2 separate regions of the Homo sapiens genome follow, and region 2 is linked to region 1. Evidence: promoter capture Hi-C in human tissues and cell types (Jung and others, 2019). All regions are on one chromosome and are shown on one strand. Each heading gives the region's core, a stretch centred on a gene start or on the middle of the fragment in contact. The rest is flanking DNA. Distances are from core to core; before and after follow the strand shown.

Region 1 (3,020 bases), core at 449-2,948:
GATAAAGTGGTTTGGGTTTGGGATTCTTTCTCTTGTATCTAAAAAAGTTCCTAGAAGGCCCTCCCCTACCCCCTGAGGAGGCCCTCTCACCTAGGGCTGTACCATAGCCAGCGGTGGCCAGAGCACCAGTGTTACAGTGGGTCAGCACAGTCACCTTGCCACCGCTGGGGGCCACCCGCTCCAGGAGGTGGCGGGCTCCTAGGTCCCCAATGCTTCGGTTGTCTCTGAGGTCTTTCTCCAGCATGTCCTCGGTGCAGCAGATCACTCTGGGGTGACAAGGAGTTTTCAGCACCAGCCACCAGGACCCGGGGCCCAGGCCAACGCCTCCTCTCTGCCTAACGCTGCTGTCCTGGAGCCCTCCTGCTCAAAGCCTCTCATTGCTGTGGGGCCTGGACCCTTCGGCCAGGGCCACCGAAGTGTCACTCCGTTCATTCATGCAAAGACATGTTTACCAAGCAGTTCCGGTATGACCCAGCAGTAAACAAGACAAAAATCTCTGCTCCTGTGGAGTTGACACTGGGGTGAGTGAGCCAGCTGATGAAGAGATAATAAAATGAAGGAAAAGCCGGCAGAATCAGGCAACAGAGAGCAGCGGGTGAGCTGGATCATATAGAATGGTGGAGGAGGGCGCTATGGATACCTGGCCCGCACCAATGGCACGTGCAAAGGCTGTAAGGCAGGCTCGAGCTTGGTGGGGTAAAGTGACATTGCAGGGAGGGCTGGAGCAGAAAGGAAGTGGGGGGAAAAAGATGGCAGGAAGGGGACCAGGACAGGAAAAAAAGTTCCTCAAAAGCAGAAACCAAGAGAACACGGAGATACTAAAAAGGGCCTCCAAGGGCGGATAAGGGGCTGCGTGTATTCAGGGGAGGCACGATTAAGGAGTTAGGTTTCAGGGCCAGGCTGCCCAGGCTAGACTCTGGGCCCCATCTGTGGGGCCCTGGACAAGGGACTTAAGGTCGCCGTGCCTCAGTCTCCCCATCTGTGGGGCCCTGGACAAGGGACTTAAGGTCGCCGTGCCTCAGTTTCCCCATCTGTATAGTGGGTCACTGTACTTAAAAAGAGTCAATATAATTCCTGCTCAGCGCCGTGCCTGGTACCAGATCCCCGTACCTCTCCCGGACCGCCTCTTCCGTAGCGCCCTCCCGTTCGGCCTCCCGGGCTGCAACATCAGCCAGGTCGCGGGCGGCGCGGGCCATGTTGACAGCGGTGGGCCGGGCGGTGACGAGGAAGCTCAGCTTGTCGCGCACGAAGGCCACGAGCGCGGCGAGTCCCGGTCCCCCGGCGCCCGCCTGCAGCTCCACGGCGAGGCTGAGACAGCCCACCAGGGCTATGGCCGGGGCGCCCCGCACCTGCGGGGCAGGGATTTGGGCGTCGGAAGCTGCAGGCGCGGGCGCACTCCCACCTCCAACCCGGCCGCCCCGCCGCCCCGCCGCCCCGCCGCCCCGCCGCCCCGCCGCCCCGCCGCCCCGCCGCCCCGCCGCCCCGCCGCCCCGCTGCACCTTCATGGCGCGGATGGCCTCCCAGGCCTGGTGCACCGAGCCCACCGCCTCGTAGCGGCTCTGCTTGGGCAGCAGCAGCTGGTCTAGGATCTGCAGGGAGCCCCGCGAGTAGCGGATCGCCTCCAGGGTCATGGTGCAGCAGCCAAGCCCAGCGCAACTCAGAGGGAGCTAGGGGTCCGCGCGCACTTGGGAGCGGGGCGGGGCCGTGGGCGGAGCCTCCCCCGGAAAAAGAGACACGCACATGCGCATCCAACCCGATTCCACGGGTTCCCAGGAGGCGGATTCCACGGGTTCCCAGGAGGCGGATTCCACGGGTTCCCAGGAGGCGGATTCCACGGGTTCCCAGGAGGCGGATTCCACGGGTTCCCAGGAGGCGGATTCCACGGGTTCCCAGGACGCGGATTCCACGGGTTCCCAGGACGCGGATTCCACGTGGCCGAACCCACTCCACGACTCCTGCCAAGCCCGAACGGAGTGAGCCGCCTCCTCGGAACCACAAAAGTGGCAGCATTTATGGGACGCCTAGTGGATACCAGGCCCCGTGTTTAACAACCTGCTGTCTAGAGTTAGGGATGTATCCCCAGTGGCAAGGTAACATCAAGTGTTCAAACCAAAGAATTTGTTAAATGATCTTCCAAGGTTGAGGGGGAGGTAGTGGGGGGTCGTGTGCCCCTTGATGGATGCAAGGCTGTTTCTGGGCCATTTTCTGCTCGGTTTCATTCAAAAGTAACATGCAGGACAGGCGCTGTGGCTCACGCCTGGAATCCCAGCATTTTGGGAGGCCGAGTCGGGCAGATCACTTGAGGTCAGGAGTTCGAGACCAGCCTGGCCAACATGGTGAAACCCAGTCTCTACTAAAAATACAAAAAATTAGCTGGGCGTGGTGGCGCACACCCGTAGTCCCAGCTGCTCGGGAGGCTGAGGCAGAAGAATCACTTGAACCCAGGAGGCAGAGGTTGCAGTGAGCCGAGATCGCGCCACTGCACTCCAGCCTGGGTGACAGAGCAAGACTCGGTCTCAAAAACAAAACAAAAAAACCCCAAAAGTAACATGCACGGGGGGCTTTTCCATGGGCCACCCCTGGGCTGGGTATAATAAAAAGCTCACACCTGTGTGCTCCAGCCCCTGCTGCATCTGGCACACATCCTGGGTACCCCGTGTGCCTTGTCCCTGGCCTTGTGTGTGTGGTTCCTGGCCCCCTTTTCACCCTTCACACTTGGCCCATGCCTCCTCCTCCAGGAAGTCTGTCCTGATTCCTGGCCAACCGGGACCACCACCTTGAGACTCTTGTTACTCTGGAAGGGGACCATGTCTGTGGTCACAGCTATGACCCTATACCAGCATTTGCTGATGAGAGGCCTACCAAGCTTGGTCAAGGTGGGGGGGTGGGGGGGCAGCCCCAGGGTCCATCTAACAACCCAAGACAGGGAAGAAGAGACAGGTCTTTAATGTACGGAGTCTCACAAGGCACAAACACCCTCACCAGGACCAAATAAATAACTCCACGGTTGCAGGAAGGCG
Region 2 (3,024 bases), core at 15-2,514, 150 kb before region 1:
ACCCCGGGCTGTCCGTTGGGTTGTGGTTCAAGGGAGTGGAGTCATCCAAACTGTACCTGGGCCACAGGAGGTGGGGTCTCTGAAGCCTTCTGCTCCTCTCCAAGGACCTCATTTAGCTCCGCCTGCAGGGACACACAGCCAGGGCAGGATATAAGGGCCTGCTGGATGGGGGCAACCGGATCAGAGCCCCCACCCCGCCCTCAGTGCTCACCAGCAGGTCATCATCAGCCTCCAAGTCGTCCTCATCCGTCCCCTCCTCCTCATCCTCATCCGGGTCTCTCATGCACAGGCTGGCCATCTTCTCAATGGCCTCCATCGGCAAGGGACCTGGCGGTAGGGGGATGCCCCAGGTGGACCAGGGTCGTACACCAAGAGCCCCCATTTCCCATCCTGGACACGCTAGGTGATCCCACTTCTCGCTGACTTCCCCATTTCATCTCTTCCTTATTCAGCCTCAGGTCTGGGGCCTGGCTACCTGAATTCAAAACCCAGCTCTGCAGACCGGGCACAGTGACTCACGCCTATAATCCCAGCACTTTGGGAGGCCGAGGCAGAAGGATCACTTGAAGTCAGGCGTTCAAGACCAGCCTGGCCAACATGGTGAAACCCTGTCTCTACTAAAAATACAAAAATTAGGCTGGGCGCAGTGGCTCACGCCTGTAACCCCAGCACTTTGGGAGGCCGAGGCGGGTGGATCACAAGGTCAGGAGATCGAGACCATCCTGGCTAACACGGTGAAACCCCGTCTCTACTACAAATACAAAAAATTAGCCAGGCATGCTGGCGGGCGCCTGTGGTCCCAGCTACTCGGGAGCCTGAGGCAGGGGAATGGCGTGAACCTAGGAGGCGGAGCTTGCGGTGAGCCAAGATCGCGCCACTGTACTCCAGCCTGGGCGACAGAGCGAGACTCCGTCTCAAAAAAAAAAAAAAAAAAAAAAAAAAATTAGCTGGGCATGGTGGCGTGTAATCCCCGCTGCTAAAGAGGCTGAGGCAGGAGAATCACTTAAGCCCAGGAGGCAGAGGTCGCAGTGAGCTGAGATTGCGCCACTGCACTGCAGCCTGGGCAACAGAGCAAGGGTTTGTCTCCAAAAAAAAAAAAAAAAACACACACACACAACAACAACAAAAAAAACCCCAGCTCTGCAACTTTCTCTCTGTGAGAACTTCGGCAAGTGATGTCACCTCTCTGAGCCTCAGTTTCTCCCTCTGTGACACGGGGATGACAACAGTTCCTCCTTCATAGGTAGGTTGGAGCAGAGAAGGTCAATGAAGCTCTTAGAATAGCATATTGCCAATATCTTGTTATTAGTTATGTTACATTCTATAAAGCTGCTTTGAAGACTAAATTAATGACTATAAGACTGTTGCTCCTAGGGGAAATTTAAGCTTAGGTTCCTGTGAATCTCCAGTCATAACCTTTTTTGGAGACAGGATCTTGCTCTGTCACCCAGGCTGGAGTGCAGTGGCCCAATCAGAGCTCACTGCAGCCTCAAACTCTTGGCCTCAAGTGATCTTCCTGCCTCAGCCTCCCGAGTAGCTGGGATTACAGGCATGCACCACCACACCCAGCTCTGGTCACAAAATTTTAATCAACTGATCAATACACAACCTTGCTCTATGTGTGTTTCTGTTTGAAGACACCTTCCTGAATAGATATCGTTCATTCATTAACTTTGAATTCACAGCCAACAGCACAGTAGTTCATGCCTGAATGAAGCTTCTCTCTTTTTTGTTTTTTGGAAACAGGATCTTGCTCTGTCACCCAGGCTGGAGTGCAGTGGCGCAATCTCTGCCCACTGCAACTGCTGCCTCCTGGATTCAAGCGATTCTCATGCCTCAGCCTCCCAAGTAGCTGGGATTACAGGTGTTCGCCACCAAGCTTGGCTAATTTTTGTATTTTTAGTAAAGACAGGGTTTCACCATGTTGGCCAGGCTGGTCTCGAACTCCTGGCCCCAAGTGATCTGTCCACCTTGGCCTCCCAGAGTGCTGGGATTACATGCATGAGCCAATGTGCCTGGCTGACATGAGCTTATTGTGTGTGAGGGGGCCCTGGGTGAAATACTTATGGACTCCAGATTAACTCCTATAACATGGTTATTATTCCAGTTTTACAGATGGTGAAACTGAGGCCAAAGCACATGATGTGACTCATCAAGTCACATAACCAGTAAGTGGCAGAGCTCGGATTCCAACTCTCAGTCTCGGTCCAGACTTGATCTTTTTTTTTTTTTTTTTTTTTTTGAGACGGAGTCTTGCTCTGTCGCCCAGGCTGTAGCGCAGTGGTGCGATCTCGGCTCACTGCAAGCTCCGCCTCCCTGGTTCACGCCATTCTTCTGCCTCAGCCTCCTGAGTAGCTGGGACTACAGGCGCCCGCCACCACGCCCGGCTAATTTTTTTTTTTTTTTTGTATTTTTAGTAGAGACAGAGTTTCACCGTGTTAGCCGGGATGGTCTCAATCTCCTGACCTCATGATCTGCCTGCCTCGGCCTCCCAAAGTGCTGGGATTACAGGCGTGAGCCACCGTGCCCGGCCTCAGAGTCGATCTTGACTCTCTTACCCAGATCATTGGCTCCAGGAGAACAGGGGTCTTCTCTGTCTTCTTTCCCCTACCTACCCAGTGCCCCCAGTTCTGCGCCCGAACCACTTGCAGGAGATCAGAAAATGTTCTGAGGGTGTGTTAACCATCTCACCTTTGCCTTTGAGCTTCTCCAGGGCTGGGGGCTGGCCCCCGACCAAAGCCAAGAACTCAGCCTCCAGTTCTTCATCGTTAGCCCCGTCCTCAGGGATCATCAGGCCATCTGGGGAGAGGTCAACCAGCAGGCCCAGCTAGGGGAACAGCAAGGGTTCAGTCAGACCTTTGGTTCACCACATGGCTAGAGGCAGCCATGATGGCCAGAGAGTCCCCTTGGGAGGAAGGAAACAAGGTCTCCCAGGGAAAGCCATTTCCCTGGGGAGTGCCAGGAGGCTGGAACAAGCCCAGAACAGGTGTTCCAAGATAGGCCAGGCCCTCTGGCACAGTTCAA

Evidence for each region. The method cuts DNA at HindIII sites, captures the fragments that hold promoters and counts their contacts. A contact is called where the count stands out against the background at its distance.
Region 2: a contact is called between a fragment that was not itself captured here and the fragment with the promoter of MRI1 in region 1, in 1 of the 25 tissues and cell types used here (mesendoderm cells).

Annotation. Positions count from the first base shown.
Region 1 is chr19:13,763,200-13,766,219 of GRCh38, reverse strand. MRI1 (methylthioribose-1-phosphate isomerase 1) reads right to left here and starts at 1,698. Exons shown (of 6, transcript NM_001031727.4): 1 at 1,500-1,698; 2 at 1,111-1,349; 3 at 91-266. The coding sequence starts at 1,631. YJU2B (YJU2 splicing factor homolog B) reads right to left here. Exons shown (of 10, transcript NM_030818.4): 10 at 2,931-3,020. RefSeq lists enhancers at 1-501, 2,971-3,020 and a silencer at 1,279-1,328. The HindIII fragment of the contact is 13,832 bases long and covers 1-3,020 here.
Region 2 is chr19:13,909,626-13,912,649 of GRCh38, reverse strand. CC2D1A (coiled-coil and C2 domain containing 1A) reads right to left here. Exons shown (of 29, transcript NM_017721.5): 2 at 2,692-2,827; 3 at 212-327; 4 at 57-122. Among named protein-coding and RNA genes, the nearest start is that of CC2D1A, 4.9 kb to the right of the region's middle. The HindIII fragment of the contact is 5,078 bases long and covers 1-3,024 here.